7 separate regions of the Homo sapiens genome follow, and all the other regions are linked to region 1. Evidence: promoter capture Hi-C in 16 types of primary human blood cells and fetal thymus (Javierre and others, 2016). All regions are on one chromosome and are shown on one strand. Each heading gives the region's core, a stretch centred on a gene start or on the middle of the fragment in contact. The rest is flanking DNA. Distances are from core to core; before and after follow the strand shown. Region 1 holds the start of ELL2 (elongation factor for RNA polymerase II 2). Region 2 overlaps LOC101929710 (a long non-coding RNA gene). Region 3 overlaps LOC101929710 (a long non-coding RNA gene). Region 4 overlaps LOC101929710 (a long non-coding RNA gene). Region 5 overlaps LOC101929710 (a long non-coding RNA gene). Region 6 has its middle 4.6 kb from the start of RFESD. Region 7 overlaps LOC101929710 (a long non-coding RNA gene).

Region 1 (3,101 bases), core at 252-2,751:
TACTATGTTTGAAGGTCTGAATCAAAAAGGAGTGTACCCGTACGGTGGGGAAGGCATTTATTGGGAGGGGAGGACATGGAATCATGGCCCTAATCCATTTAAAATAATGAAAAATACTGATTAAATATCTATAAACTTTCCCGGGGAATCCCAGTAGAACAGAACATGGTTTTATAAGCTGAGGGTAAAAACAAGCGTCTCAGTTTTTTTATTAAAAGAACTTTTTTAAACTGCCTTTCAACAGTTTGAAAGCTTTCAATGGTTTGTTTTATCTGGTGTTTCTGATCAACCAATTAATCCATCCTCTGACAGGAACCCATCTGTCAGTCTATCCACACACAATCTGAAAGGGACTCCAGATTAGGCTCCCTCTTTTAGCCACGCCTACACAGGAAGCATCCTGTGGATGGAATGGAAAGTATGCCAGGCCTTTGCACGCCCCTCACGCCCCCATCTCCTTCGCTTAACCTCGACAGCCTCTTACCTTTAAACCCTAGCTAGGTTTTCACACAGCCCTATCAAATAAAAAGGACAATACTCAAACTGAATTAGAGAATGAGAATTGTCGAGGTTTCTTTTAATTTAGATCAATGCCAGTTTTACTCTTCTTCTAGAGTCCTTTTTAAGGAGATATCATCCCCACCAGTTGTGATCCCAGAGAATCACAACAGGGCATGGCGTAGGAAAGACCTCGAAGCTCAATTCTCTATTATACCATGCCCACCATACGAAAGGCATTTAACCTCCCGCGTGATTTTGTCCTTAAGATGCTCCACAAGATCTAACACAACTCCTACATCTAAGAGTCGACTCACTAATTTCAAGGGTTTTTGTTTTTGTTTTTGTTTTTATAAGCTCTGCGTGTGGCACCCGATAACTTCAAGTTTAGAGTGAGCAGTTTCCTCCCAATGCCGTTTGCTCAACTACAGTACTAGGAGTTTTGAGGAGCAGCTCTCTAGCGAGTCCTCCTGCTGCGTCCTCCCCCACACGCACGCACCAAGTTCCACAGCTTCCGCAGCCGTCGGGGAACAAAGTCCTTATTTGGTCACGGCCATCCCCTTACATAGTGGAGGTGGAGATCCTCCTCTCCAAGGACCACCCGCGTAGGGCGAGATTCCCCAATTCTGACTTTTCACTACTATCCCCCACAGGGGCGGGGCTCCAACTCCAGGTAACCAGACCAGGCAACCTGGACTTCCAATTAGCAGGGGAGTCCCCAAGCCAGCCTGGCCAATCTCGGCCGGCTAGCCAAGACGACCAGACGTGACGTCAGACATGATTAAGTTGGCGCGTCACCTAGACGTCAGCCTCTTACCTCTCGGACGTCCCGTCCCAGGAGCAAAACTCTAGTGACTTTGGGCCCGCCCCCGTGAGAGTGGAGGGCGGCCGATGAGGGCGGTTCTGAAGGGAACAAGACCAATGAGACGAGCCCGGGGCGGGGCGCGGGGCCGGAGGGTGGGGCGGGTGGCGGCGGTGGCAGTCCGAGGTCTGGCTCCGCGCAGTATATGACAGTACGTCAGCAGCGGGATGGCCCTAGCAGTGGCGGCGGCTGCAGAAGCCCAAGCAGCCGCGGCCGCAGTGGAGGCTAGAGCCGGAGCGGCGGCGGCGGCGGCACCCCGGGGAGTTTAAGATGGCGGCGGGGGGGACAGGGGGCCTGCGGGAGGAGCAGCGCTATGGGCTGTCGTGCGGACGGCTGGGGCAGGACAACATCACCGTACTGCATGTGAAGCTCACCGAGACGGCGATCCGGGCGCTCGAGACTTACCAGAGCCACAAGGTGAGCGGGCCGGCCGGCAGGCTGGGCTCAGAGAGGCAGAGCGCACCCCTCACGGCCTGGCCGCGCCCGGGTGCGGGGCCGGCGGAGCCGTGGCTGGCAGCTGCTACCGTCAGCGCCCGCAGCGGCCAGGCAGGGCAGGGCCGGGCAGGGTGGCTGACGCCGCGGTCCCGGGCTAGCCTGGGCGTTGGGGAAGCGGGCAGTCGGGCGGCCCCTGGCGGCGGGGCCGAGGCAGCCGCAGCCCTGGGTCGGCTGCGCTGCCGCTGCGGGACTTTCCGACGGCCCCCGAGGATTTCCTGGCTTGTTGGGTCCCAAGGAGGGAGAGAGGCCCCGATAAGAGAAGTGAGATGACCACGCTACCCTCGGCGGGGAAGGAGGGTAGCGAGCAGCGTATGGGCAAGGAACCAGGGACGACTCGCGGGCACCAGCTGCCCGCGTTTTCCAGTTACATAGGCACGGTGGATCCTCAGAGACAGGACACAGGCGCTCCGCGTGTGGGGGTGGGACCTTGTATTCCCAGGGACTTGGGGACACAGGCGCTCCACGTATCAGGGGACACACTGTGTGCTCGAAGGGATGGGGACTCGGGCGCATGGTGAGGGGCACACGGTGTACTCATAGAGATAGGGACTTAGGCAGTCCGTGTAAGGGGGCGGCGCACACTGGAACGGCGGGGACACTGGCGCTTCGCGTACGGGGGGGGAGGGGACACACCTGCATTCCCAGGGACTCCGGGACACCGGCGCATCGCGTTACTGGAGACGCGCCGCGTCCAGGACGGACACAAACCAACACAGTGCCCTGGGGAGAGACCTGAGGACTCACGCACACTTAGCGCTCCCCGGGAGCAAGACATCGGGTTCTGGAGAGAGAGGTTCACGGACGCTCAACGTACCCGAAAAAGCTCCCGGCGTCTTGGGCTGACTCTGGGAAGTGTAAACGGGGAACGAGCCAGAGCCAGAAGGTGTGGGGAGGATACAATGCATCCCGGGCAGAGACTCGGGCCTCTCACCCCTCGTTTTCGAGAGAAGCCCATGGACACACACACACACATATACACACACACCCCTCCAGTACAGAGAGAGGCTCAGATAGGCGCACATACACTGTAATTGGACTACAAATCCAGACGCTTTCATGTTGGAAAAAAAATGGGAGAGACAGGGAAGCACCGAGAAGGGACGCGGTAACCAGGGTGCATGGGGAAACAGTTTATGGACATGCAGTACTGTGGGAGACCGGAGTGGATACATCGCGTGAGGGAGGGATATGCCATATGGGGGAACCTGTAACGTTTTACAGGAGAGGAGAGAGTCGGAAGGGAGAT
Region 2 (3,101 bases), core at 177-2,676, 480 kb before region 1:
CTGGTGGCTGGCCCTTTTTGCTGAAGATTGCAGGTCAGGGAGTCTTCTCTCTGGAATCCAACTAACCCAAGAGGAAAGACTTAAAGACTCTGGCATTGAGGTTTTCTCAACTCTTCTATCTGGCCAGGCCATCCTGCAGCAAAACTCACAGTTGCCAGTTCCCATTTAAATGATTACGGATTTTCTTTTCTCGCTCTCAACTGTGATCTAGCAACATGGATAACTGGAAATTGGAGGAATGTCTTTACCATGAGAAAAGGGACTGAACCATAGGGGAAAAAACACCATAGTGGTCACCTTATTTTTGCAGGAAAAAAAGCAAAAAATAAAAAAATAAATAAAACAAAACAAGCAAACAAATAAAACCCCCTAGCATTAATATTCTCAGACATGAGAAGATATTATAACCATGAGAGAAGAACAGGAAGAAATTAAAAGGAACATTTATAAAATAAAACTGATATTTTAGAAATTAACAATATGATGGAGAAAATAATTCTAGTTGAGAAAAAATTTTCAGAAATTTTGGCATAAAGAAAAAAGTAAATAAGATAAAGAATAATTTTTATCTGTTATAGACAATGATTTGGTGGTAATATTTGAAGGAAAGAGGATATTTAAAATTACAGAAACCAGCAGATTGTACAGCTTGAGATAAAATGAGAGAATAATTCAATTTATACAGTTCTTTAAACATCAAAACATAGAAAACAGTAAAACTTTAAGTGTCAGAACATCAAGGCAGGTAGCAAGTTCTCAAACACTAAATTAAATGAGTCTTACTTCCATCACCAATACAGTGAAAAATCTGTTACATGAGGCTTATTAGCAAGTCATGATCTCAATGCCCCTATTTTTGATGAGAAGTGAAGGCATAACCTAGACTCACAGACTAGTGCAAAGAATGCCCCTTTATGTGAGTCAGTCCAGTTAGTCTTTACAAGCTCCATAAGGGGCAAGGTGGGGTGGACTCTCAATCCCTGTGGCTGCTTCTGTGACACCTCTGATTCAACCAAAAGAAATTGTTGACCAAACTTAATTTGCTTTTTCCTTCATTTCTTATATTGCTGTGATTCATTTGGAATGCCCTTGAGGTTCTATGTGTTATTAGATGCTGGAAAAATTTTGACAAGATCAAGTATACCCTAGCAACATGAAATAGAGAATTGAGATAGTTAAGAAGAAATGCTAGATTAATATTTCACTTTCCCTAAAATATGCATGTAGTTGAGACTAAAGTATTCTTAAAATTCTCTGCTTCGTTTTACTTCTAGGGTTAATCTCTGTCCGTGACTTGCAGAAGGATATAGAGCGTAGGCAATTGTTAAATAAATTTGATTCATGTATATCAATGATGCCCAATAGAATCACCTGGTGTGACCCATGCCACACCAATTAAATCACAATCTGTGGGCTTAGGGCCAGGGCATCAGTGTTGTTTTCAAGATACTAAGTGCAGCAATAATCGATAACCACTGATAAAGTTACTTCAATGCCTATTTATACTTTTTAAATTCGGTGATTACAAAACATATACTTTCTTTGAAGCTATACAGATATAGTATCCAAATTGGTGATCACAATTGATTAGTTTAAGTAGCTTCAAAATTGGCATGTGGCTTTCTTGACTAGGTTCCCAGAATCTAGATGTAATAGGTTGGGTGTTGGGGCAGGATGTAGAAACTGTTAACATTGTTCTTGGAGTGCCTGGCTGGCTTGAAGCAAAAGATTGATATACATAAATTTTATTGGATTGTAAGAATAATGATCCTGCGTCTAGTTATGCATCTTCATAGGAAAGGTTTTAAAATGTACTTTCAGGGCATTATATTTGAATCCAGCATTAATAAGCTCTGGAAACAAGAATGGGCTATTTTACTCTTGGTGAGAGGGCCAGAGCCTTACAGATGTATGCATGAGCAAAGGATCACCTGAACCTAATGATTATCTTCCTAATTGGCTCCTGGGAAGTTATGTATAAACATATTTTCATTGAGTCATTACTCTGTTTTTTTCCCCCAAGTTCAGTGGCATTTTCTCTGAAGAGATAATAATAGAGCTACCCTAACAGTGGAAAATAACCTCCAGTAGTCTATTAGAAATGGTTACAAAAAGAAGAAGGAGAAAAAAGAAAAGAATGAGAAGAAATGGAGGGGAAGACAAAGAGAATGAAGAGAATGACGGTGATGACAATAATAAAGAAGGAAGAAGAGGAAGTGGAGAAAAAGAAGCAGGAGGTAGATCAGGAGGAAGAAGAGGAGAAAAAGAAAGTGAAGCAGCAGCAACAGCAGCAGCAGTGGTAGGGTAAATGCCAATGCCAGTTAAGGCTTTTCACAGCGCTCCTTACGACCTCCAAGGGTACCTGTAGAAGTTTGTAGATTCCTGGGCCTCAGGCCATTCCAGAATCAGAATGGGAGGAGCGATGCTTAGGAAGCTGCACTTTAAACTACCTTGATACTTAATCCACGTAAGTATTATGCATAGTAAACCATCTGAAAATGATTGTCCTACAATACGTTGGGCATTAATGCCAGGGATACTGTCCATTTAACTCACGTAGTTTCCAAGTTCCTAGTCTTACCAAAGCAACAAATGGTAATAACATTTTAGGATAACATAAACCTAGAAACATAGGGCTTCTGAGTGTAATCTAAAATCATGGACAGTTCTCTTCAATGCAAAGCAAAGAAAATGGCAGAAGACAGACCAATCATAATGACAGCTAGATTTTATTGAGTACTTACTATGGGCTAAGCAATGTTCTCAGTGCTTTACATAATTTAGTCCATTCAAATCTCATAAATAGTATTATTTCCTCTGTTTCATGAGGAAGCTGAAGATTCAGGAGCTATTCCAGGTAACAGTGCTGGTAAGGGGTAGAGAGGACTCAAATACTTACCTGCTTAAAATATTAAACATCAAACTATTCCACATAAGTGGAAGGTAGAAGAAGCACTACAGACCTGAGTTCTGGTGTTAGCTCTGTGAGATTATCTATGCAAACTCTGTTAGCCTTGCTTACCTGTGACTCAGTTTACTTGCCTGTGAAGTGGGAATGGTAATAATGGTGTAGTGAGAAGCCAATAGATGGAAATCCTTGT
Region 3 (3,101 bases), core at 178-2,677, 380 kb before region 1:
CACCTTAATTTCAGAAAATAGAACAGAACTTTAAACTGAAAACATTTAACATCATTTTATTAAAAAATCAATAAGTTGTCCTACTTTCTCATTTTCCTATCTTTGGTTAAAGAATTTATTTTGGCTAGGTGCCAGTATTGTGAGATCCATTTGGAAAATTGCAATCTACAGCTGAGGTCTTTAAATTTTTATCTTGTGTACCCCCTAAAAGAATTTTTAAAATCTGTAAATGTGTTTTTTTTTAGTGAGGTTAAAGATTTTCATCATCATTTTAACAATTGCAAACTATGTATGAGTGCATTGTACATGTTGCTATTTTAAAATAAAACTGTTAATAGCTCTTTTTAAAAATATGAAATTGTGATCATTCTTCTAGAAACAAAATATTTCCTTCAATACCAAATGTAAGCTTCATTGCCCTATTCCCACACCTTTCTTCATACACAATAACTTTTTGTCTCAATGCTCAATTACAGTATCATAATTTTAAAGACATTTTAAATGGCAATGGAATCAACTTATGCGGTACCAAAAATGCACATAACTCAGTGAAGCAATGATACTATGAACAAGTACAACAGGATTCCCGTAGGCTCAGGGCGTTTGTGGCATGATTGTGAAACACATCCCATTTTCAGAGATGTGCAAATGTGGGAAATAAAGAATTGAGGAGATATGGCTGGGTGATCTCAATGAGAAGGAGTCATACGGCTAGCTATGAGGGAAGAACCAATCTATGCTAGCTTGCAAGAAAAAGAGAATTCAATTCAATCTTATGTATGGGACTAGCTGCCTTTCCATTTTATAATTAGGGTCTGTCCTTTGACAAGTCTCCAAATAGACCTGAAATATGGACCTGGCTTAAAGGCAGGTAGGCAGAAGCCAGGCAGCAATGCGTCTTCTAAGGACAGTGGTTCTCCAAGAGTGGCTTCCAGATCAGCAGCCCCAGCCTCACCTGAGCACTTGTTCAAAATGTAAATTCTCAGGCCCCAATCCAGCCCCGCTGCATTGGAAAATATGGGGGTGGGCCCAGCACTCTGTTTTAACAATCCCCAGCTGGTTTCCATATGTGCTAAAAGTTGGGGAACCACTGCCTCAAAAACACCCCCAACCAACAATGAAAAAGCAGATGAGTTAAGTTTTTCTGTTTATTTCCTTTTTATTATCCTATTTGTCTATGAAGTCATATTTAAACTTCCAGGCTCTTCCCATGTGTCCTCAGAGGAATTAAGGAAGGAGGCCTGTGTTTGCTTGAGCCAGAATGTCCAGGAGGGCACACCTGGAGGGCATCATGGTGGTGGTGGCGGCAGCCACTCTATATTAGTGAGAATTAGTGAGGAAGAAGAATCTTGGGGAATACAGCCTTGGATTCAGTTTGGTCTCACATTGAGGACTGTACATTACCACCATCACTTGTTAAACTTAGGGGATTTGAGTTGATTTTATCAAGGAATTTTTTTCTAAGGTAAAGGTAATTTTTGGTTGGGAGAAGCTATTAAATCCACGAAATCATATTGTGAGAAAGTTCTTTTCAACTTCCCTGTACTCATCATACTGTCTAGAGAAAGTCTCCATTTAGTGTATTCAACATATCTTTAACACTTAACATAAGGAGAAAAAGATTTAGGCTCAGTGCCGTGGTAGGTTCATGTTCCTAGCTAGAATTCAATAATATTTTATTGTTTTTACCATTACTTCTCTTCCTGGATATCATTTATTATGACAGAGGATACTGGTTTTCCACTTGAAGTCATTATCTGAAAGTTTAATCTAAAGAAAGTTTATTTAAGTAAAACAAGCACCATTTGAAAGAAAAACACCCAGAAAGGGATAATAGAGGTGGTTTAAGGATACAGTATGTAAATGGGAACCACTATATTAAGAAGACTGTGGGTTGTTATCCTGGCACTTACACTAATGAGACTTCAAATTCAAAAAGAAAATTGTTATTTCGAATTTGACCTTCAGGCTGGCTTTCAGGTTTCAAACATAGTATCTTGAGCCTTAGTGAGTTATACACTGATTTGTAAAAAACAAAACAACAAACCAAAACCAAGCAGGGTGGAGGGGTGGGGTGGAGGGTGGGGGGATGGGAGTGGGCAGGAATGAAAGGAGATTGTGATCAAGATTTCTAGAGTAACATTTTTTAAGATGAAAACTTGAATTAAATGTATGGTAAGTGATACTTTCTAATGACAAGGGGACAAATAAGAAGACACAACTCTCCATTACTAAGAGCAATTAAAGTGCAAATAATTCCTTCTGAGAATCATGATTATTTACATGCTGGATACAAATTATCCTTCTGCATAGAATCTCACAGGCATTTGGATTTAAGAAAATCTAGTTTTATTAGTCCTAGGATCAGGATTTCTCTACTGAACTATTTCTGTTAACTGTTTTTCTAACTTCATATGCATCTGAAGTATACTCACTGAAGCTTCCTTAGACAAACATAGCAATGGTAGATTTTGACTATGAATTACAGACTATTTCATGTCCATTATCATTCATTTAGTAACGAGCATCATAAGTTCAGTATATAGACTTACAGCTGTAATGTAAGTTAATTTCTAAATGGAAAATAGTCATAGTATATACTGCGTAGAGCTTGGAGCAAATCTTACAGCTTACTGTTTTGGAAGATGTGAAAGTTTCTTGTAAAGTCAAGTAAATGATAATCAAAGTGGGAAGCAACATCCTCCTTTGAAGGGTGATGCTTCAGTGTGAAGAGGTTATAAACTGGGGTAAACAACAACAGCTCTTAGGCAACAAAGGAGGATTTACCTCGATTCTTCTCTGTTGGCCATTGCTCCTACCGGGACCTGGCAGTCAACGGAGTGAACAAACACATCACGAATATTACTGGATTTCAGAGTCTATTAGGAGCCAACAAGCTGATTCAATCCTTACTAAAAACCCACAGTTCCAAAGATTCAAAGCCAAGATCACTGAATTACTAACTCATTAAAAACGGAAATAAAAATTGAATCAGCCAAAGCAACTCAGAACAAAGATGAAAAACAAGTTAACCATGGTGGGGAGGGTAGGGGGAGAGTGGGGGTTGAGGGCAGAAGGGGCGAGCTGCTTTCAGCATCAAG
Region 4 (3,101 bases), core at 216-2,715, 330 kb before region 1:
TTCCAGGAAAAGACTTCTAAAATGCTCCCTGAGGTGAGCTACATTGAAGAAGCATACTGCAAATTTAAAAATAAAAACAACAGGTCAGTTTTCTTCCACATATTTTCTTCAAACCATTGTGACTCTAAGTCCAAAAGAGTTATATATAGGAATGAAATAAACACAAAGGCAGAGGAAAAGACAGCCCAAGTCAATGCATAGAGATAGCACATGATCTAATTTTTTTAAGTTGTTAGCTAGTTGAACATTTTACATAGCAATACATTGAGTCAAAAATGAGTTGACTCAGTAAAATAAATATTTGAATAGAATGAAACTTACAATAAAAATAATTCAGGGCCAGGCACAGTGGCTCATGCCTGTAATCCCAGCACTTTGGGAGACTGAGGCTGGTGGATCACCTGAGGTCAGGAGTTCAAGACCAGCCTGGCCAACATGGTGAAACCCCATCTCTACTAAAAATACAAAAATTAGCCAGGCGTGGTGTTGGGTGCCTGTAATCCCAGCTACTCGGGAGGCTGAGGCAGAGAGAATTGCTTAAAACCCAGGAGGCAGAGGTTGCAGTGAGCTGAGATTGGGCTACTGCACACCAGCCTGGACGACAGAGCAAGACTGTGTCTCAAAATAATAATAATAATAATCTGGCATTTACTTATATTATGCATCACTATATGACGATGAGGCCTAAGCTTTTATAAACAATACACATATTCTAAATACTATCTTAGTATAGTCAAATTGAGTGCTTCTAGAGTTCTCTGGAAGGAGAAGAAAGAGGAACCCCTAAAGATTAATGAACTCACAACACAAAAGAATCTAGAGGCCAGGCGCGGTGGCTCATGCCTGTAATCCCAGCACTTTGGAAGGCTGAGGCAGGCAGATCACAAGGTCAGGAGTTCAAGACCAGCCTGACAAACATGGTAAAGCCCATCTCTACTAAAAATACAAAAATTAGCCGGGGCGTGGTGGTGGGTGCCTGTAATCCCAGCTACTCGGGAGGCTGAGACAGGAGAATCACTTGAAACGGAAGGTGGAGGTTGCAGTGAGCTGAGATCGTGCCACTGCACTCCAGTCTGGGCAAAAAGAGTGAAACTCTGTCTCAAAACAAACAAACAAACAAAATCTAGAGACCAGCCTTTCTGCTTCTGGGAAATGGGACTCCATGATCTAAAGGCTCAAGAACTAAGAACCACAGATTTTCTGCCATTCCACCCTAACCTCCCCTCAGGGCTGCCTTGTACACCTCTGGGGGAGGAGCTGGCACCATTCATATTCTAGATCATGTGAATGGAGGCCACTGGAATTGTGCAACATGACAGGGTTGAATCCCGGCCAGAGAAGAATATTAGGAGGAGTTGGCTGCTGTTTGCACTCCTCCACCCCTATTCGTACTTTGATTTTCCATTCAAACATTTATTCAACAACTATTTGTGGAGAACTATATCAGTCGGGACTCTTTAATGAAGACGTCAGAAAACCAAACTCCAGCTGGCTTAATCAAAAAGGGAATTTATTGTTTCATGTATACAGGCTTTAAGTGAATAGCTGCTGTCATCAGAATTAAGTGTCGCTCCCTATCCCTTCACTCCACTTCCTCTGTGTTGACTCTAATTCTGTGACAGTGTTTGGGTCATCCTTGTGACGCAGTGGGCAGCGCGTCAGTCTCATTATCTGATAGAACTTTGTAAATTATTTAGCACTGTATGAGCTACTAAAAGACAAAATTCTCCCAGTTAATAATCATCCCATTCTCCTAACTTTAGTATTAATTCCAAAATCAACATAATCACCTTGTGAGAACATTAACCCATTATTTAGTAGGTGAATAAGTCTTAAGGAATAATCTCAAAGTCACAACCTTAGATAAAACAGAGGCAATTCAGTCTGAATTGGGCTTGTTGGGGGTAGAGCTTGGGCACCAGCAATTTTAACAACTCTCCAGGTGATAAGACCAGTGGCCTGTGCATTCAACAGATAACGTTGAGAACTAATTTGTCTACATTTGTGAAAGGTTTAAAACAATTCAGTAGTTATTATGACATTAAAACATATTTACGTTATACAACTGAGAAGCTCTTATTGGAAACGGAGTCCTAAGGATGGATGTTACGGGTTTTCCAAAATACCTAGGATCTACAGAAGTCTCGAAGCTCTGTTTAAATTTCATTCTTGATGCCTACTCTGACCTTTGGATAGCATCTATTCACATATAATTTTAGGACAAAATCAGGGTAAAGCTTGAAGCCTCTGTTTGTAGTGATATCATCTTTGAGATATTAACATATGCGTCTTTTTTCTTCCAGTGTTTGCCTCTTTCCTTCTCATTCAAACAGAGAGTAATCCTAAGGAGAAGGGTGAAAAAAGGCAGAAAGCACAAAAGTCTGAATTGTTCTAGGTTTGGCTTTCAAATGCCTAAGAACTTAAGTAGAAAATAGCCAGAGTAGAGACAAAATATTTGGAAGAAACAGGAAAGAAAGATTCTGTATCTGTCATCGGCACACCTTCCCCACCACACACACACACACACACACACACACACACACACACACACACGCAGACTGGGAATCAGTCTTCTATTGATCATAATAGCAGAGACTTTGGAAGATCTTACAGGGAGGATCCTATGGGTCTATGACTCCTGGAGAGAAAGCATAACTGTGATAAGCCTAAGCAGAAGAAACTATAGAAAGCTAAGTCTTCCATGCTCCCCTCTCCCCAGAGCTTGGCACAAAAATAGCAACAATTTTCCTGAGCCCCATTCACCTCCACCAAGATTGGCATAGAATTAAGAGAGAGAAATGAATGAGTTAAGTGAGCCATGTGGATACCAACAGGAGAACTCTGAACTGTCTAGCCTCAGCAAGACCAAGACTAAAGTTATTGGTCATTTGACATTTGTTCATCTTTCTTCCGGGAAAAAAAAAGGAATTTGACAAAGATGAACTGTCATCTTGTAGAATGGAGGACCATGAAACTTGAGCCATTCTATTCTCCAAAGAGAATTTGTACACATTACAAGGGGAAGTAAAAAGCAGGGGGTTATTGACAAAGCCTTTGCATCTATTCATAGGAGTGCTTATATGCTTGTGTATTAGCTATCT
Region 5 (3,101 bases), core at 312-2,811, 310 kb before region 1:
CTTTTCTTTGTAAGTGAAAGGTAATAACATTTTGCCCCAGCCTGCTTCAGTGTTTGAAAGATGACCAAATAAAATAACATATGTAAAAAGCCACGTTGGAAACCATTAAGAGCTTTAAAAAAGTTTAAAGACTTATTGCTGTTTGTATGTTGACATGTAAAATATGAATATCCATAAAATATAATAATGCTAGTTCAGAGGCCCAATATCAACATATTGTACATTTTTACTATGGGTTTTTATATGGCTATTTTGACTCTGCAAAATTATTCTTGTCATCTTATTCTGCGCTGGTGGCTTGACAAGGAGAGGGAGAAAATCAGGCCCTATCATTCCTCCCAAATCTATCGTTGAAACACTCTAAGGATTTGAGAGTTAAAGCACAAAGATCTACCAGCAACCACTGGGAGAAAAACACTGCATGTAAACATGGTGGGTTAGGAAACATCAGTTTCACGAAGAAGACCACTGGCTAAGAATCACAATATATGCTTCTACTTAGAGATTAAAATTTGTATTTTAAATAATAGCTTTTGGAAAAAGGATGTAAAGTGAAGGAAGAGCAACAGGAGCTTTTAACACGGGTATTCTTCTCAGTTGTGCTCTTCTCAATAAATGAAATCTCCTCGAAAACATTTGTTAGATAGAAGCAATTAAGGCGGAGGCTCTATCCTCTCTCCACTAATTAATTACAGCAAATGAGCCTGTAATGTGCATCATAACAACTTAATAAGCTGGACCAAACTATTTTAGATTCTGCCATGCTAGTATTTGATTGTTGCTGGGCTATGTAAATTAGGTAAGTAATATCTGAACATAAATAGCTTTTGAATTACCTGTGTCCTTCAAAATAAACTCTATATCTTGAGCAGATGTGCTATTTACAAGAAAGGGGTGAGAGCAGAGAATGGTATAGCAGATATGAGGACAGGGAAAGGAGGTGGAGACAGGGAAAACATGAGAGCTTACACAAACTATCATATTATCTTCAATAATTTAATATCCATCCTTTCTACAGCATGTTACAGCAGCCAACTGGATGACATTCCAACAACTCTGTCACATTTTTCAATTTCTGTTGGACCTGAACATTGAAGAATACATAGCTGTATTAGCCTCCCTTTTTTGACATCATTGGTTATATTATCAATTCTTGCCTCAAATATCTAACTGAACCTTGATCAAATTGTGACTAATACAAGCTCTTTAGTAATGTCTCTGCTTTTAATGAAACTTTAAAGAAAATTAGTGACTTATTGAGTCAATGAATAGACTTTGTACATCTGGGGATGAGTTCAAATACGGCTTACTGTCAACGAAACAAGCAAGAGCCCCAGACTAGCTGTGAATTATCTCAGACACAATTATCTGAAACTTTAAAGGCTGGTTTCTTTAAAAATCAAAGGTCAATATGTCTTCCAGGGAATAGCATCTGCTACCACCTCAACGTGTTAATTGACTAACTTCAGCAAATATCAAACAGATCCTCATCTCCCCTTCCTCAAAGTATAAATTGTTCACTGCCCACGAAGGTATAATTCAGGCATTTCCAGATTGGAAGGAGAAGAGGGCATAGGCAAGCAGATCTGGAGGTTTATCAGGTGATCTTTTCTGTAGACCCTTCTTTTTTGTTTATTATTTGTGTCAAGTTTCTCCAGAACATTAGAGCCAGGCATTTCCACGACAGAATGAAAAAGAAAGTTGTACAATTTTCTTAAATATTCTTGAAACATGAGCTGTTTAGTGTCAGAGGGGAGCCTAGCGGTTTGACCAACCAGAAGAATAAGCATAGGCTAGCGACAAAGAGAATAATTAATCAGTTATCTTCCTCTCTTCTCATTGTTGCACCCGTCATCTCTGGGATGTAATGGGTGAAAATGTAGACACGCACACAAAATCTATTTGAGGCCTAAGGGCAACTTTAATAGTGACACAAACTGGAATTGAACACATTTATTGAAGTCTGTTCCAAAATACATTTCATCCTCAAATTTATGATGCTCTTAGAATAAGGAGTAAATATATGCATACCTTTCAGGAGTCATGGTTTTGGTAAAATTTTGGACAGAATTGACACTGGACTATAAAATTGGGGCTCTAGGCTGGGAGCTGTGGCTCGTGCCTGTAATCCCAGCACTTTGGGAGGCCGGGGTGGGCAGATTACAAGGTCAGGAGATTGAGACCATCCTGGCTAACACAGTGAAACCCCGTATCTACTAAAAAATACAAAAAATTAGCCAGGCATGGTGGTGGGCGCCTGTAGTCCCAGCTACTCAGGAGGCTGAGGCAGGAGAATGGCACGAACCCGGGAGGCGGAGCTTGCAATGAGCCAAGATCACGCCACTGCACTCCAACCTAGGCGTCAGAGTAAGACTCTGTCTCAAAAAGAAAAAAAAAAAAAATTGGGGCTCTAACTCATTTCTTCTCTCACACCATCCCTTCCATCTCCCTTTTCCCAAGCAGGGTCTATTTTTGGCAAGTTCTTGCTAAGATGTCAAATAATAAAAATTTCAGGTGTGTCCTCTCCCAGGTGAATATGCATTTTTAAAAGGCAACTCCAAAACGGCAAAGCCTTTAAAGCTCTAAGGAATGACAGGCACAGGGATGTGTTGGTATATGATCAAGCCTCGGTGCCCTGTCAGTACTTCACTGATCTATTTACTGCTAAGGCCAGTCCAGGAGATACTCGAGCAATCAGAACAGACCAGTGAAGAGATATCTACATTGTGTTTACTCTTGTCCAGTAAATGAAAGAGTGTAAAGAAATTCCAGCTTTGAGAAAACTGTTCCTGAATTAGATATTTTCATTAAAATATTCTCTGCATACAAAAATATCTACGCAAGCAATTTGAAAAGGCATGGGATCAGTTTAAATCTTACATGCCTGAAAGTATAAGAAGGTTCAGTCAGCAATATATAACCAACTAAAACCTTTTTCTTCAACAAGGAAAGCCAATACTTCTATATACCTTTGTCATTCATCGACAGGCCATAAATCTACTGTGCATTTGCTTAGAAGAGAAAACTTGAGATACAGTCTTACTTATATTTCTCTCACTCCTACTATTCTCTAGATATTCTATTTCTCTGACTCCTGCTAT
Region 6 (3,101 bases), core at 202-2,701, 320 kb after region 1:
CCCCTGGAATTTTAAGGTTGTTTTTTATTATAACATACAATAGTTTAACCTGATAATTCATAGCTATCTCTAATTTCATTGTGTTCAAAATCGAAATACTAGTTCTCTCCCATAAATCTGCATTTCTTTGTCTTCTCCATCTCTATAAGTGACAACACTGTCCATCTTCAGGCTTAAGGGAGAAATCTGCATGTCTTCCTTGACTCTTCCCTTTTCCTTGTCGCACCCCTTCCTGCCCGTCTGTAGAGAAAGGAGTTCGCATAGCTGACCTGAGACTGCTATCCTTAAAAAGGTCTGCTTGTAAGGTTGGCCCTTCGCTGACATGTGAGAACTTGGCAGGTAAACAGTCCCTTACTGTCGTGCCAAAGCCCTATTAACCTCAGTAGGAAAGGAACCAGGTTCAAGAGGCCGAAGAAGAGACCTAGAGCCAGCAAACAAAACATGGTGTTTTATTAGGTGCTTACAGAGTCCAGTGGTGGTGGGATGGGCAGGAAAACTGCAACCGCCTGCAACCATCATGCAGTTTATATGGTATTTTCACTTTATACCCTCCCCCTAACAATCTCCACCTGGCAACCTTCATGTATCCCAAAATTCAGGGCCTCAGTCCCCTATATTAGATGTTTCTCATAGATAAAGAATGACTCTTCAGGTTAGCTACTCCCAGATTCCCTAGCTCAGAACATACATTCAGGTGCATCTGCCATATGGGGTCATTCTGAGGGTATGCATAAATTATTACTATCAGGTGAGTTTATCCGACACCTACACCTACACATACAAAGCTTTCCCTAAATAATAAAAGTGATTCCCTGTGCGTAAGCTATTTGTACAAACAATGCACTTGCTTTTCCTTCTGAGATTCTAGAACTTGGTACCTGCTAGGCAGAGGTGCCTGTGACCAATGTCCAGTAAAAACTCTGGCTGCTGAGGCTCAGTCTTTCCCTGGCAAAAACATTGCAGGCATGTTTCTACATTTTCATTTCTGGAGGAAGAATGCAGTCTGTGTGACCCCTCGCGAAAGGGAGAACACTTAGGAATCCTGCACACGAAGTCTTCCATGCTCTGCCTGAGTCTTTTTCTTTACAATCCAGCTGTGTATCCTTACTACGTTTCTGTAATAGCGTAACTGTAATGAGTCCCAGAATCTAGTGAATCTCCAAATGTGAAGGGGGTCTTAGGGACCCTTGATATCCCCCCATATCTAATCCAGCACTGAGTCCTGCCAATTCTTCCTAAAATTTATCTGAAATCACACCGCTTCTTACCTTATCTGCTATCACCACCCTGAAGGTACCATCATCTTTTATTTGTGTTGGACTTTGAGAGGGCCCAATAACACCTTTCTTTTATTTTCTGCCTGAGTTTGGAACCAGTTGAGAGACACAGAAAGAGATCAAGGTGTGAGCTTTATTTAATTATGAACGTCTCAATTGGGGTGGCTTAAACATGCAGCCAAAGGGACTAACAGCCTCCTGAATTAAACTTATGTATCAAAACTCTCTTAAAACTGTCCTCTCTAGCGGACAGACTAGATTGTACCCTCTCTACAGGTACACAAATCTGTAGAAAGAAGAAAGGAGCTAAGCTGAGCATACCAGGAGAAGTGAGTGAAGGTTGGAGATTTGACTAGCTGAAACACTTCTTGTTCACTGCTGATTTTTATCTTCCTGGTGGGACTCCAAGTCCTGAGCATTAAGCAAATGATACACAGCTGACGTAAGTGGGGGTGTGGAGAAGAGAGTCTGATCAGCAAATACCACCGAACCTACATTGAGCCTGAAGCAAAACACTGGCCATTTGTACCAAGCCAGGCTTAGCAAATACACACAACAGAGCTATGTGGGCCCAGCAAAGGCAAACCCCAGAGAGCTTTAGGTGACGTGGGCCTCGGGTGCAAGCTGCTGCTCCTTGACCTTCAACAACATTCAGAACATATTCATTCTGCTACACTGAGTGTTAGCAGAGATAGGGAGGCCACAAAGACCTAAGAAAGCAGGTATAACTAAGACAAGGTCTAAATTATGTCTTTAAGGACTTTGGCCTTTCAGACAGTAGTGGGTAGAGTCAGGTTTGCTGCAGTTAGAGGTAGTGATATTGATGAAACTGAAGCTTCAGGTTCCCATATTTGCATGGGGCCTTCCAAGATCCTGAGGTCCTGAGGGACACTAGTAATGTGTTCACATGGTCATATGCTCTCGCCCTCTCACCCCTACCCCTCACATATATAATTATATATAATTTGGTAACAAACACAAAAATACAGAAAAATACAGGGAAACTCTATTCCCAAACGCCCATTTGAGAGTATAGTACCAATCTGATGCCCCGTCAGTCCCTAATGCTTTAGTATGTATTTTCTCCAAATCTGGACATTCTTCTACATAACCACAATACAACCATCCAAATCAGGAAGTTAACACTGACACACTACCATCTAATCCTCAAATTCAGTTCAGAATCAAGATTGTATGTTTAGTTTTCATGTCTCTAGCTTTCTTCAGTCTGAGATATCTCCTTAGTCTTTCTTTAACATTTATGATATTTGCATTTTTGAAGATTACAGGCCATTCATTTTGTAGAATATCCCTCAGTTTGAGTTCATCTGATGTTTCCTCCTGATTAGATTCAGGTAATGAAGGCACATCACAGAGACTGGACTTTGAGCCTCTGTAGGCTGCCCCTTGATTCCCTTCCCACTGGGCTTGAGCTGGCCGTGCTATGTCACTACACCATGTTGCCATCTATCCCACTAGGGCTCTGACACTCCTCTGTGAGCCACCTTGGTCACTCCTCCTTCTCATCCCCCTAGCCAGCATGTGTGTCTTCCCCGCTCTGTCCCACCTACTGGCTTTAGGACTGAATTGTTCAGAAAGGAGAAAGAAGACAGGGAGGAATAATGATAATAATGTTTTTGTAAAATGTGTAAAAGCAAAGTAATTTAACTTCTGTGGATCAAGGCCATTGTTTTTCTTCTGTCACTCAGACATTTTGGGGACCTGGCTAAGGGGCGTCTGAGTTGGAAATACATTTAGTTTGGTTTTAGTGGGATATAGTTGTATGGTTTATAGCTTCCAAGAATTCTCCAGTTGCCCACTGTG
Region 7 (3,101 bases), core at 245-2,744, 290 kb before region 1:
GGTGATCTTAGTATGTGCCAGGTTTGTGCCAAGTTTGATAACCACTGATCCAGACACCCTCTCCCTCCTGTGAAGAGAAACAAATACAAGTCATTTCCTGACTATATCCATATTTTCAGGTTTTAGCCCTGGATAGATTAAACTCCATTGCAATGGACTATGTAAAGAAAGCTAGCAACCACCACAAAATCTACTTTGTGATGAAAAATGAAAATGGTGTGAAAAGAAAGTTTAAAATAAAGAAGACTAAAATGTCTCTACTTTTGGTTATTTTTTTAAAAAAGTATCTGGCCTCTTTAGAACACAGGAGATATGATCCCATTTTCTTAAATAATCCTTTAAATATGACTTGATGTTTTGAAATACACACTTCTTAATAGCCCATATGTGTTTACCAAGTCCGTAACAGCTGGCAAATGATAGGAATTAAACCTTAACTGTCAGACTCCAGTCATTCTGTTACCACTAAATTTTAGTCCACGAAGGAACCAACAAACTCACTTGCTATTTCTCTTCATCCCATTTTATCAATAGTTCAGATCTGCAATGCATGAATCAACCGGGATGAACTTCCTGTATTTTAGAAATCTAGGTCAGAACATTATCATTACTGAAAGAGGTTAAAAATAGACTTCACCTAATGTTGTTATAATACAACTTCATATATAAATAATTCATTCATTAAAATGTGAAGCTTATCAAGAATTGACATTGAACTCTTTTTGCTAACAGCTTTCTGTGCAATCCAAACGGGTTGCTTAAACTCTGTGAGCGTCAATTTCCTCAGTTTTAAAATAGGACTGTTAATACCTACTCTAACTCCCTTGAGATTTTGGTATAAATTCTGGGCACTTGAAGAACTTCAAAAAACAATGCAAAGGTAAGTTAATCAATAGTCATTTAGTCGTAAGTTTTGTGAGGGCAGAAACAACTTCTCATAGATTTTTGCACACTCAGAATTTAGCTCAGTGCCAAGCATATAGTAGGTACTAACTGAATGAATACTATTCATTAAAAAGATGAGCGAATGAATGAATAAACAATAGTAATTGAAATTCACAGAAAACATAGTGTAATGACTAGGAGGTAATAGTAAAAATGCATTCTTAGGCTTTTTCCTTTCCATCACCAAAATTACCATTGCCTTTAGGAAATCAGTAATTGTATTTTGGATCATATTTTTGCCACTTCTTCCTTTAGGCCAGTGGAGAAACTGCTGAATAGAAGTCTCCAGTGACTGTCAGATAAAATTCTGCCAGAGTTAAATAAGAGTATGGAGAGGTCAGACACAATTTGCACTCATCTACCTATTCCTAGAGTGTGGCCTTACATTTCATTCTTGTCTATTTCAGAAAGACAAGCCTTTGGGAAACCAGATAGATGAGTTTACAGGATTTCAATTCTAACTGAACGTAAAGATTGAGAAATAATAGAAAAAGTATAGTCTTTAATTTGGCCTTGTAGGTGATGTTAATTGTCAGCATTCTTAGTGCTGAGACCATTCGTTAACTATTGAGCCCTGAGAATCAACCACTAGAGTTTCTTCTCTAGGATTTTTGGGGAAAAGTCAGTTACTAATTACATTACCTGTACTCATAAGACTTAGTCAACAAGGCCCTTGATTGCTTTTATCACTGACATCTGGCTATCAACTATACTTGAACTAGCTAGGTCTGGGCTTCTCTGTGGCCAGAGTGTGTACATTAGTTGATGTCTGTGATATACCAATTACTTTTCTTATCTCATCTCTTTTCACTTTCAGAGACCAGGTGCAAATTTCCACAACTCCTTGTAGATCAAGCATGCATTTTCTTTGGTTTTACTTATAGTTATTCCTAAATAGCTATGTAGGGGAGGGAGGAATCTCATCCTTCCAGTGAAATCTGCGATCTTTGGGGCAGAAAGAAAAGTTAACAGCAAAGTGGTTAGATCAACTTGTAGGTGCTATGCTTCCCAGCGAGACTCTATACTACACTTGAATAATTTCTTAAAATATCAATGGCACTAAATACATGTTTAATAAAGAACTTTATACATGGACTTACACCTTCCTAAAATGTTACAACTATGCCACTTAACTGATAGGCATTTTAGTAAATCACATCCTTATGAAGAAATCAGCCCAGCCGAAGCTGGTTTATGGACCTACTACATTTGCAGATTTGTAGATTTACAGTGCAGAACAGAAAGCAGTCCAGGAAAAAGGATGCTTTCAACTTTTATCAGGTAAGGACCCTTGGTAAATATTAAGATTATTGGCTCTGAGCTTACATGAGTTGGATGAACAAAGCTTTGCCCAAGTAAGGGCTTCTCTGTACCTTTTCTGTACCTTTGTACCTTCGTACCTTTGTATCTCTGTACCTCTGTACCTTCTGTACCTTTGTACCTCTGTACCTTTTCTGTACCTTGTACATGAATTGAACGAACAAGCTTTGCCCAAGTAAGGGCTTCCCTGTACCTTCTCTGTACCTTTTCTCTGATATTTTAATTAATCAGCATCTTTTTCTAGAAGTCAACTTTCCAGAGACAGATGTAGTCCTATTCTACTCTTCAGGGTTTTCTTCTATCTAGACTATTGCTAAAGTAGAGAAGCCGCATTTCCAAAGGGGATATTTAAAGAGGACATCCTGATGCAGACTGCTGTTGCCTACCTTATATCTAGTCTGCCCTTTCAGCTTATTAGTAGAATCCTGCTTTTATTCACAATAGCAAGAAAACCTTGCTTAAAAACTATAATTCCTTGCTTTCCTTACATTAGGATTGAGCATGTGATGCAATTCTGACCAACAAGAAGTAAGCAGGAGTTGTCATTAATGTGTCCAGAAGAGCTCCCTAACAGGGAGGCAGACTCAGGAGGCTGCACCCTGTTGCCTTTTGCCCTTATCATTTCTCCTGCCTGGAATGGGAACAGAATGGGAACACAACAACTGGAGTGACAACAGTCACCTTCAGAGCCTGAGGATAAGAATTGCATCTTCAGGATGACACAGAGAAGAAACCTAGAAGGTCCTGGGGCCCTGATGAATTTGCTGGGTCACCACATTGGCTCTGGCTTGTCTAATGCAGGATTTATTTTATCTGGGAGAAAAATGAACACCCTT

The links. The method cuts DNA at HindIII sites, captures the fragments that hold promoters and counts their contacts. A CHiCAGO score of 5 or more calls a contact.
Region 2: a contact is called between a fragment that was not itself captured here and the fragment with the promoter of ELL2 in region 1, in 1 of 17 cell types (total B cells). The highest score is 5.2, in total B cells.
Region 3: a contact is called between a fragment that was not itself captured here and the fragment with the promoter of ELL2 in region 1, in 17 of 17 cell types (M2 macrophages, M1 macrophages, M0 macrophages and 14 more). The highest score is 31.5, in M2 macrophages.
Region 4: a fragment that was not itself captured here is called in contact with the fragment with the promoter of ELL2 in region 1 in 6 of 17 cell types (M0 macrophages, M2 macrophages, M1 macrophages and 3 more); the score reaches 13.6 in M0 macrophages.
Region 5: a contact is called between a fragment that was not itself captured here and the fragment with the promoter of ELL2 in region 1, in 5 of 17 cell types (M2 macrophages, endothelial precursors, M1 macrophages and 2 more). The highest score is 10.1, in M2 macrophages.
Region 6: a contact is called between a fragment that was not itself captured here and the fragment with the promoter of ELL2 in region 1, in 3 of 17 cell types (fetal thymus, naive B cells and non-activated CD4 T cells). The highest score is 6.4, in fetal thymus.
Region 7: a fragment that was not itself captured here is called in contact with the fragment with the promoter of ELL2 in region 1 in 5 of 17 cell types (endothelial precursors, erythroblasts, M1 macrophages and 2 more); the score reaches 11.6 in endothelial precursors.

What each region holds. Positions count from the first base shown.
Region 1 is chr5:95,960,251-95,963,351 of GRCh38, reverse strand. ELL2 (elongation factor for RNA polymerase II 2) reads left to right here and starts at 1,501. Exons shown (of 12, transcript NM_012081.6): 1 at 1,501-1,777. The coding sequence starts at 1,631. It overlaps LOC101929710 (a long non-coding RNA gene), which reads right to left and starts at 1,351. Exons shown (of 5, transcript NR_130776.1): 1 at 1,316-1,351. It also overlaps a transcript of CAST not described here. RefSeq lists silencers at 945-1,412, 1,368-1,607, 1,678-2,087 and an enhancer at 892-1,649. The HindIII fragment of the contact is 3,633 bases long and covers 255-3,101 here.
Region 2 is chr5:96,441,987-96,445,087 of GRCh38, reverse strand. The region is part of intron 4 of LOC101929710 (a long non-coding RNA gene); the gene reads right to left. It also overlaps a transcript of CAST not described here and the pseudogene LOC102724070. Among named protein-coding and RNA genes, the nearest start is that of PCSK1, 10 kb to the right of the region's middle. The HindIII fragment of the contact is 7,284 bases long and covers 1-3,101 here.
Region 3 is chr5:96,340,314-96,343,414 of GRCh38, reverse strand. The region is part of intron 3 of LOC101929710 (a long non-coding RNA gene); the gene reads right to left. The region is part of intron 1 of LOC107986365 (a long non-coding RNA gene); the gene reads right to left. It also overlaps a transcript of CAST not described here. Among named protein-coding and RNA genes, the nearest start is that of PCSK1, 91 kb to the left of the region's middle. The HindIII fragment of the contact is 2,031 bases long and covers 412-2,442 here.
Region 4 is chr5:96,291,296-96,294,396 of GRCh38, reverse strand. All of the region lies in intron 1 of LOC101929710 (a long non-coding RNA gene), which reads right to left. It also overlaps a transcript of CAST not described here. Among named protein-coding and RNA genes, the nearest start is that of PCSK1, 140 kb to the left of the region's middle. The HindIII fragment of the contact is 1,548 bases long and covers 692-2,239 here.
Region 5 is chr5:96,273,401-96,276,501 of GRCh38, reverse strand. The region is part of intron 1 of LOC101929710 (a long non-coding RNA gene); the gene reads right to left. It also overlaps a transcript of CAST not described here. Among named protein-coding and RNA genes, the nearest start is that of PCSK1, 160 kb to the left of the region's middle. The HindIII fragment of the contact is 3,261 bases long and covers 1-3,101 here.
Region 6 is chr5:95,640,623-95,643,723 of GRCh38, reverse strand. No RefSeq gene overlaps it. Among named protein-coding and RNA genes, the nearest start is that of RFESD, 4.6 kb to the left of the region's middle. The HindIII fragment of the contact is 1,327 bases long and covers 788-2,114 here.
Region 7 is chr5:96,250,249-96,253,349 of GRCh38, reverse strand. All of the region lies in intron 1 of LOC101929710 (a long non-coding RNA gene), which reads right to left. It also overlaps a transcript of CAST not described here. Among named protein-coding and RNA genes, the nearest start is that of MIR583, 170 kb to the right of the region's middle. The HindIII fragment of the contact is 1,596 bases long and covers 697-2,292 here.